Linked DNA regions of Homo sapiens: region 1 is linked to region 2. Evidence: promoter capture Hi-C in 16 types of primary human blood cells and fetal thymus (Javierre and others, 2016). All regions are on one chromosome and are shown on one strand. The core of a region is centred on a gene start or on the middle of the fragment in contact, and the rest is flanking DNA. Distances in the headings are between cores, read along the strand shown.

Region 1 (4,614 bases), core at 1,975-4,474, 150 kb before region 2:
CCTGCATCCTACCAGATGCTAAATATCTTGCAGATTGCCCCTGGCTACACCCACACCTAAGTAAAAATAACAAGTGTCTGGAAGGGACCATAGACAAGTGGCAGGTGACATTCTTCTGCCTAAACTTCGGAGCCCTGTGATTACTGCTCCCATGTCATTTGTGTGATCACTGAACGGCTGTGATTCCAAATGGGTTTTGATGAGAATCTACCTGCAACCAAGAAAGGAACAAATGGCTCTTAACCGTAGATATCACTAAGCCGCTACCAAGCAGGTATTGATCAGAGCTGAGGCAAAACCCAGGCTGATGGATGGGGCAACTCTGAGAGGGGATGAGGGAGCAGAGGTGTCTCTTCCCCCAGAGGATGTACACACACACACACACACACACACACACACACACACACACACACCCTGTTGGTTTTGAAAACTCACTGGAAAATAGGGAGGGAGGGGCAGGGTGGGGGCAGAAGAGCCAAGGGAGTCTGTGATTTAGGGGAATTTGCCAGACTTTCATTTTGGTTACAAAAGAAATATTTGAAAGCAAAGAAATCCATGAACAGCAGAAGGCTTTGTGGAGCCATAAATAAAGATCAGACACACAGGGCAGGGCGCTGAGCAAGCAAAGCCACAGGCAAGAGAGTCAGCCTGGCTGCCTAGGCTCACAGGTCCACAGTTCTCAGTCGTTCATTCACTCACTCAAGCCACAAGTATTTACTGAGCACCTACTATGTGCTGGGTGCTGTTCAAGGTGCTGGGGACATAGCTACGAATGAAACCAATGAGTCTGCTGTCTTGAGGAGATTGAAAATAAACAAGTTTTCAAAAGTCAATAGGATTGGGGAAACTGAGAGGGGAGGATCGCTTGAGCCCAGGAGTTTGAGGCTGCAGTGAGCTATGACTATGCCTTTGAATAGCCACTGCACTCCAACCTGGGCAACACAGTGGGACCATGTCTCTAAAAAATAATAATAATAAATACAATAGGATCATGTCAGGTAGCGGCAGCCACAGCAGAGAGGTTAAAGGAACAGACAGACAACCTGGGTTTAAATTCTGGTTCTGCCACTTACCGGGTGGGGCCCTCGGGCAAATCATTTAACTTTTTTTGCAGTGAATATTCCTGGTGCCTACCCAGGTCCCCTTTGCAGTGATACATCACTCCCTGGCTGCCATGACGGGCCACTAAAGGAGCACACTCTCCCCTTCTGCAGAAACATGCCCTTGGTTGAATTGCAGCCAGCTCACCTGGAAGGTTATGGTGATTCCCTCTAACCCCTGAGACACCCAATGAGGAAAAAAGGCGTGCTTCCTGTGGCTGAAGGTGGAACCAACTCTGCAGTATAATTCACACTCCAGAGCTTCCCAGGGGGTCAGTCTCTGGGGAGACCACACCCCTTCCATGCCATTTCCCTTACTCTGCCCTCTGTGTCTAATTTATCTTCCTCTGCCCTCTCTTAAACATGTTTTTCTTTCTAAATTTTATGTATTTATATTTTTTTTTTAGAGACAGAGTCTTGCTGTGTTGCCCAGGCTGGAGTACAGTGGTGCAATCACAGCTCAGTGCAGACTCAAACTCCTGGGCTCAAGCAATCCTCCCACCTCAGCCTCCCAAGTAGTTGGGTTGCAAACCACCATGCCAGCTAATATTTTTAATCCTTTTTTTTTTTTTTTTTGTAGAGATGAGTTCTCATTCTGTTGCTTAGGCTGATCTCAGACTCCTGGCCTCAAATAATCCTCCCATCTCAGCCTCCCAAAGTGCTGGGACGGCAGGCATGAACTACTGTGCCATGCTCTCTCCCTTTTACCTGAAAGTATCTCTCCAAAAATTCATGGGCACCAGAATTCCCATCTCAGGCTCTGTTCCCAGGGAAGCCAGCTTATGACACTCATTCTTTGTGTGTAAAATGGGGGCACCTCCCTCATGGGGTTGTTAAAAACTAAAAGAGTTAATATACTCCTGTATTTGCTTAGGACACGATGTGATACATCATAAGTGCTATATAAGCATTGATCATCATTAATGGAAAAAATAAAATTAAAATCACTCAATGCAAAAAAAAAAATGTCTAGAGTGGGGCTATATCAGTTAAGAGTGTCCAGGCAAGATGTCTATGAGGAGGTGACATTTGAGCTAAATCCTGGTAGGAAGGAGGAAGCTAAATAAAGAGTTGGGTGAAGATAAATCCACACACAGCAAGTGCAAAGGCCTGAGGTGGGAGCAAGCTTGCTTCGTGCTTTTTTTCTGTAATCCAGAGGCCAGTGAGGTGGGAATTCTGGTCAGAGGATTTTAAAGAAGCCGGTGGCCCAATATAATTTGCGTTTGCAGTAGATCACTCTAGCTGCTGGGTTGAGAATGGATCTGTTGGCTTCACAAGTATTTCCTGATGGCCTGTTTTGTGCAAGGTGATGTAACAGGTATTCGGGAGGATTTGAAGATGAACCTCATGCAGTCCTGACCTTAAAGTGCTCAAATGTAGAAGAGGCAGTGAGCTGGGCGTGAGGACTCTACAATCAAGAAAGTGCTGTGTGCTGAGAGAGAGGGGCGGGGGGAGAAGCTGGCATAGCTCCAAGGATGTAGGGGGAATGAGCAGGACCCTAAACAATGACAGGAATGTAGCTGTGGAGAAAGAAAGGGTGTTCCAGGTAGAGAGGAACAGAATAAGCAAAAGAGGAGACTTTGTTGAGGGCAGTTAAGAAACCCAATCAACCCAGAGCATAGGAGGCCTTCCTCTGAAGCCAGAGACAGCAACTGGGGCCAGATGGCAGAAAACCTAGGGTGCCAGGTGAGAATCCAGCCATTCCTCCCAAGGCAGTGGGGAAGTATTCCCAGAGTTTTAAAGAGATGAGAATTAAACCATCTTTTCTTTAGCCTGCTGAATCTAAAATTTATATCAGACTTCTCTTAGTTGCAAGGGATAGAAATACAACCACGACAGGCATAAACAGAAGAATAATTCATCAGCTAAAAAGCAGATCTGGCTTCGGGCACAGCTAGACGGAGGACTCGGTCCTTTTCTAACTTTTGGCTCCATCTTCCATGCTGTGGCTTGGGTCTCAGACTCCATGCCATGGTAAGAAAGTGGCCGGAAGCCAAGCCAGCTCTTGGGACCAAAAAAAAAATCCCTGATTTTTAGCAAATCCTTCTACTGTGGCAGATTTTGAATGCCAAGTTGAGAAGAAATGTGTGAAATCAGCTTTCAGGGCCACAGGAAACAGCCCCAACACACCTAGACCCACATCCAACCACCTTCAAATCCACTGGGCACAGCTCTCTTCCCCTGAGGTTGCAGCAGACATTTCATTGTATTGCATAACCTCTGATTTGGTCATGAATCCATCAACCCATCCACAGGGGAATGTGATGCTTTGACTGCCGTAGGCCTGGGTCTCCTGCTTCAACCTCAGTCACAAACTACATGGCCTGAGCATAGAAAGAGCTTGACACCCAGCAGAAAAAAACAACAACCAGAGTATGGTTACCAGAAAAAGGGATGCTGGCTATGGGGCAAACACAACAGATTGTTTTCCTATTAAGATGGTTTGAGGGCCTGGCGTGGTGGCTCATGCTTATAATCCCAGCACTTTAGGATGCCGAGGCAGGTGGATCATTTGAGGTCAGGAGCTCAAGACTAGCCTGGCCAACGTGGCAAAACCCTGTCTATACTAAAAATACAAAAAATTAGTCAGGCATGGTGGCGGGCGCCTGTGGTCCCAACTACTCAGGAGGCCAAGGCAGGAGAATCACTTGAACCTGGGAGGCGGAGGTCACAGTGAGCCAAGATCATGCCATTGCACTCCAGCCTGGGCGACAGAGCAAGACTCCATCTCAAAAAAAAGAAAAAAAAAAAGAAAGAAAAAGAAAAAAAAGAATAAAGAAGATGGTTTGAGGAGGCTGCGAAGATCCAACAAGAAAATGGGCAGGAAGAATCTTTGTAAAATGGGAAGCCCTGCAAAGGCTTGCTGAACATTTTTATCCTTGGTCTGGTGCTCTAAGTTTCTGATACATCTGATGTAAAGTACCATGAAATTCTATGGGAGACACCTCTGGGAGTGTGTAGTCTTAAGATGGATGATTCATCATTCCCGTTCCTTTACCCAGGGCAGACATTGCTAATCGATCATGGCACTCTCCCACGGAGCCTGGGAGACGCCTCACAATCCTTCTCCACACAGCTGTCCAGGCAGGCACTACCAATTGAGAATAGAAGGGATGAAGGATTAAAGCTTTCCATTCTCCTTAAACTTGTCTGATTCCATCATGAGCCACAGTAGAAACAGGCCCAGAGATGAGTGCAACTTGCGCATATCACAAAGGCAGAGCCTAGGGATGCCCAGAGTCTTTCAATTCTCATTCAAACCTGTTCGTATCCAAGATGACTCAATAAGGAGGAAGGAGTCAGTACAAAGAAGGTTCCAGGGCATGGGGATGCCCAAAGTGGCAATGACTTCCCACTGCTGTTAGAAAAATCTCCCAATTCCCTATCATGGCCATCATGGCTGCCCATGATCTGGTCCCTACCTTCCTCTCTGACTCCATCTCCTACCATTCTCCCCTTACCTTCCATGCCCCAACCATTCTCTCTTTCTGTTCCTCAAAACATGCCAAGCTCG
Region 2 (4,148 bases), core at 25-2,524:
GGAGGGGGCCAGGATACAGAGGGCTCCCTGGCGTCTGGCAATAGGGGTGCCTCTGGGCGGGTGCGGCTTTCCGGGAGCCCGCGGGACTCCCCCACTCCCCACTCCCGTCTGGGAGGTTCGGCGTGGGTTGGCGATGGGGGTGGAAGGCTCCCGGGTCTGTGGATCTGCGGCAGGAGGGGCGGCTGGTAGCAGGAGTCCCTGCATCACCCCCACCCCCAGGGGCGTTCCGGGGTGGGTGGGGGCATCTAGTGCCCCGCGAAAGGAAGAGGAGGAGGGGGCGAGCGTGGAGATGAGTTCAGGAGCGGAAAGCAGCGCGCGCCCCTCCGACCGGCAGCGGGGGTGGGCGCCTTCCCGGGGCGCGGGAGCGTCCCCAAAGCCGCGGGGCGTCCGCAGCGGGTAGGAGCTCTGCCTTGCACCTCTCCACGGCGGGGCGTCCCGCACGTCCCCCCATGCTGGTCCCCGGCCCCGGAACGGCGCGCGCCCCCTGCCCCGGAACGTCGCCCCTAGCCAGGCGGAGCGCTGGGAGCTGGGCCCAGGCGGCGGGAGGAGGGCGAACGGGTCCGGGGCTCGGGCCTCGATGGCCGCGCCGCCCCGGGGGAGCCGGAGCCGAGCTGGCCGCCGCCCGCGCGCACTCACCAAGCCCGCTGAGCTCCTCCTCGCACGAGTACCAGATGCCGGTGTGGAAATTCCTGAAGAGGAAGCGGTCGTCGCCGGTCTCCCAGCTGTAGAGCGCGCCGCCAGGGGGGCCGTTCCCCGAGGCGGTGGCGGCGGCGGCGGCGGCGGCGGGGGCGGCGGTGCCGTTGGCCGTGGCGTTGGCGCCCGAGTTGGGGCAGTTGGCGCGCCCGCCCTGGCCGCAGCCCGGCTTGGGGACCCGCTGCGTGCCCTGGCACCAGTGCGTGGTGAGGAAAGCGGTGGTGGCGAACAGCAGCGCCAGCAGGTTCAGGGCCACGGCCAGGAGCGCTCGGCCGCGGCGGCTAGTCTTCATGCCGCCCGCGCCGCCGGGACGGGACTGCACCGCCGGGGAGCTCCGCGCGCGAAGTTGGCAGCTGGCGCCCCGCGTCAGCGGCCGCTGCCCGCCGCGCCCCGGGGCTCGGGTGCCTGAGATCGGCGGCGGCGGACGCGGCGCGGGCCCATGCCCCCCCCAACCCCGGGGTGGGGGCGCGGCGCGGGGGGCGTGCGGGGCGGGCTGGCGGGGCGGGCGGCGGTGGAGGAGCGGCTACGGCGCGCCCGGAGCCCGGAGCGCGAGTGCACCTCGGCTAGGAGCCGCTGGCGCCTGGCAGCGGCCACGGCGCAGGGACGCGCGCCCCTCCGTGGGGAGACACCTGCAGGCGGCCGGCGACACTGTTCCGGAGCCCGCCCGCACGGGGAGAGGGGGCCGCCACGCCGGGCGCGGGCGGGGGCCTGGGAGTGGAGGGACGCCCCCGAAAGAAATCCGAGCCAGGGTGAGGGTCTGAGACGCAAGGAGAATCCCAGGCAAGGCGCTCCTGAGAAAAGATCCCCACGGCGGACGTGGGGCAACAAAACCCGCCGGGAGCGGGCATCTCATGAGACCCAGAGAGGCCCTGCCCCAGGAGACAAGGGCAGAGCCTGCTGGGGCTCCCCAAGAGGGACACGGACCAGCAGGACCCTGTCCCAGAAGGGGATCCCCAAAAGGACCCCCGCACCAGACCCTGAGAAAGGAGTTTTTCCAAAGGTTCTAAACAGCAGAGCCTGCAGGGCTTCCCACAGCCAGGGAGCTGCAAGACCCCCTGGATAAGACAACCCATGCTGGACTTGGAGTGGCAGAATCTGTCAGGAGGCGCCCCTCCTGGAGTATTGGGTTATAGGGTTTGAAACGTTTTTCTGTCTCCTGGGTGTCACCTCCAGCATCTGGGAAGAGCTCCCCTCCAAGGATGAAACTGTCATCTGGGCTCCCAACCATGGCATGCAACTGCAGGAAGAGTGGCAACAGGGTACCCCAGACAGCCCACTGCACCCACCTGAGATCCCAAACAGCAGAACCCTAGGAGGGCCCATGCCGGCCACAAAGTTATTGCAGCTACCAGGCAGTGGTGCCCTACAGGGGCTGCCAACCCTGCTCACATGCACACCATGTGAATGTGGGTAGAATCTTCAAGATTCGGGTGGGGGCAGGGTGGCCAAACATACTGACTTTGGGATCAAGCATATCTAGGGCTTGACCAGCTGTGTGGCTTTGAACAGGTCACTTACCCTCTCTGAGCCTCAATTTCCATAACTATAAAAAAGGGAGGACCCCCCCCCCTTCAAGGTATATCACAGTGGGCTGCTGTAATGAGATCATGGCTGCAAAAAGCATTTGGCACACAGTAGACTCAATTAATAATTCACTGTTACTGACATCTGAACCAAGATCAGTTGACCAAACTCAGACAAACCTCTTCAGGCTCTCCTGTGCAACGTGGAAACTGTGTGCAACCCCGTCCCCACCTCTGCTCTAAGATGACCACGCTCCCTGAACTCCCTTCGCGCTGCACAGCACTTACTGCCCAGATGCTCAGGGCGTGCAACAATTAATTGCATGTTGATTATAAGAGCTCATTTGAATTCTGCCCAAGCTGAGAACTGCTCCGACAACCCCCGGCTTGCCGAGTGGCAGGCCTTGCAGAATTCAAGGTTAACCGATTATGAATTGCCTTACTCCTGTGGGTGAGCCGGCACCCACTGTCAGCTGCTGCTAATCTGCCGGGGGGTAGGTGAGAGGAAAACGTTGTGGGCAACGTCCCTGGTAAGAGCAGGCACGAAGGATGGCCAAGGGTCTCCAAACTTGCTTTTAGAGCCCTTTTCTGGCACTGTGCAAGAGATTCTCAACTATTTTGAAAGAGAGGACCTCCATGTGATAATGGTGGCATTGAGAGTATTGGTTGACAGAGAAAATACATCATCGCCAAACAGCTGTAAAGAATCCAGTAGCATCTTTTTTTTTTTTTTTTTTTTGAGATGGAGTCTCACTCTGTCGCCCAGGCTGGAGTGCAGTGGTGCAATCTCAGCTCACTGCAACCTCCGCCTTCTGGGTTCAAGCGATTCTCATACTTCAGCCTCCCGAGTAGCTGGTATTACAGGCGCTTGCCACCACGCCTGGCTATTTTTCATATTTTTAGCAGAGACGGGGTTTCACCGTGTTGGTCAGGCTTGTCTCGAACTCCTGACCTCAAGTGATCTGCCCGCCTCGGCCTCCCAAAGTGCTGGGATTACAGGCATGAGCCACCGCACCCAGCCTCCAGTAGCACTTTTAAACTGGCATGCAGTATTCATCATGAGTGTCTGTGTACCAATGAAAACCAGCCCCTCGATGTGTGCTAAACAGGGTACTTCTTTGGACTCGAGGCTGTGGTTGGTGTGCATGTGAGCAGGGCTCGGTGACCTACAGCTGGGAACCCTGTCCTGCATGTTCAAAGCCAGGAGAGCCCAGGTGAGATATGTCTCAGGGACCACACTCTCTCAAGAAACACCTGAGGATGCACAGAGGGATTTGGAATTTCCATCTAAGATGCTCCTCCACTCACTGAGCCACCCACTGAATGCTCAGCACTGGGAAGAAAAGAGAACGTGAACAAAGTTCGTAAGAAAGAACATCACTCAGAACTTTGAGAGGCCGAGGCGGGCAGATCACCTGAGGTCAAGAGTTCAAGACCAGCCTGGCCAACATGGCGAAACCCTGTCTCTACTAAAAATACAAAAATTAGCCTGGTGTGGTGGCGCACAACTGTAATTCCAGCTACTCAGGAGGCTGAGGCAGGAGAATCCCTTGAACCCCGGGGGCAGAGGTTGCAGTGAGCTGAGATCGTGCCACTGCACTCCAGCCTGAGCGAGAGAGCGAGACTTTGTCTCAAAAAGAAAAAAAGAAAGAACACTGCAGAGTATGCAGGGGTGAAAGCCAGGGAGAGCAATTCAGCAGGGAGGGATCAAAGTGGGGATGGCTTCAAGGAGGGCCTCACTGAGAAGGGGACATTGGAGCAAGGATTTGAAGGAGATGTAGGGGCAAGCCATGAAGACATCCGGGGGAATGGAAGTTCCAGGCAGAGGGATGGCCAGTGCAAAAGCCTCGAGGCAGGAGCCTGTCTGGCCCTTTGGGGAAAAACTGAGAGCACAGTGTGGCTGCAGCTGAGTGAGCAAAGGGCAGAGGAGGA

What was found. The method cuts DNA at HindIII sites, captures the fragments that hold promoters and counts their contacts. A CHiCAGO score of 5 or more calls a contact.
Region 1: a contact is called between a fragment that was not itself captured here and the fragment with the promoter of GSG1L in region 2, in 2 of 17 cell types (M2 macrophages and megakaryocytes). The highest score is 6.0, in M2 macrophages.

Annotation. Positions count from the first base shown.
Region 1 is chr16:27,914,828-27,919,441 of GRCh38, forward strand. All of the region lies in intron 2 of GSG1L (GSG1 like), which reads right to left. Among named protein-coding and RNA genes, the nearest start is that of GSG1L, 150 kb to the right of the region's middle. The HindIII fragment of the contact is 2,001 bases long and covers 2,225-4,225 here.
Region 2 is chr16:28,062,440-28,066,587 of GRCh38, forward strand. GSG1L (GSG1 like) reads right to left here and starts at 1,275. Exons shown (of 7, transcript NM_001109763.2): 1 at 637-1,275. The coding sequence starts at 985. The HindIII fragment of the contact is 8,058 bases long and covers 1-4,148 here.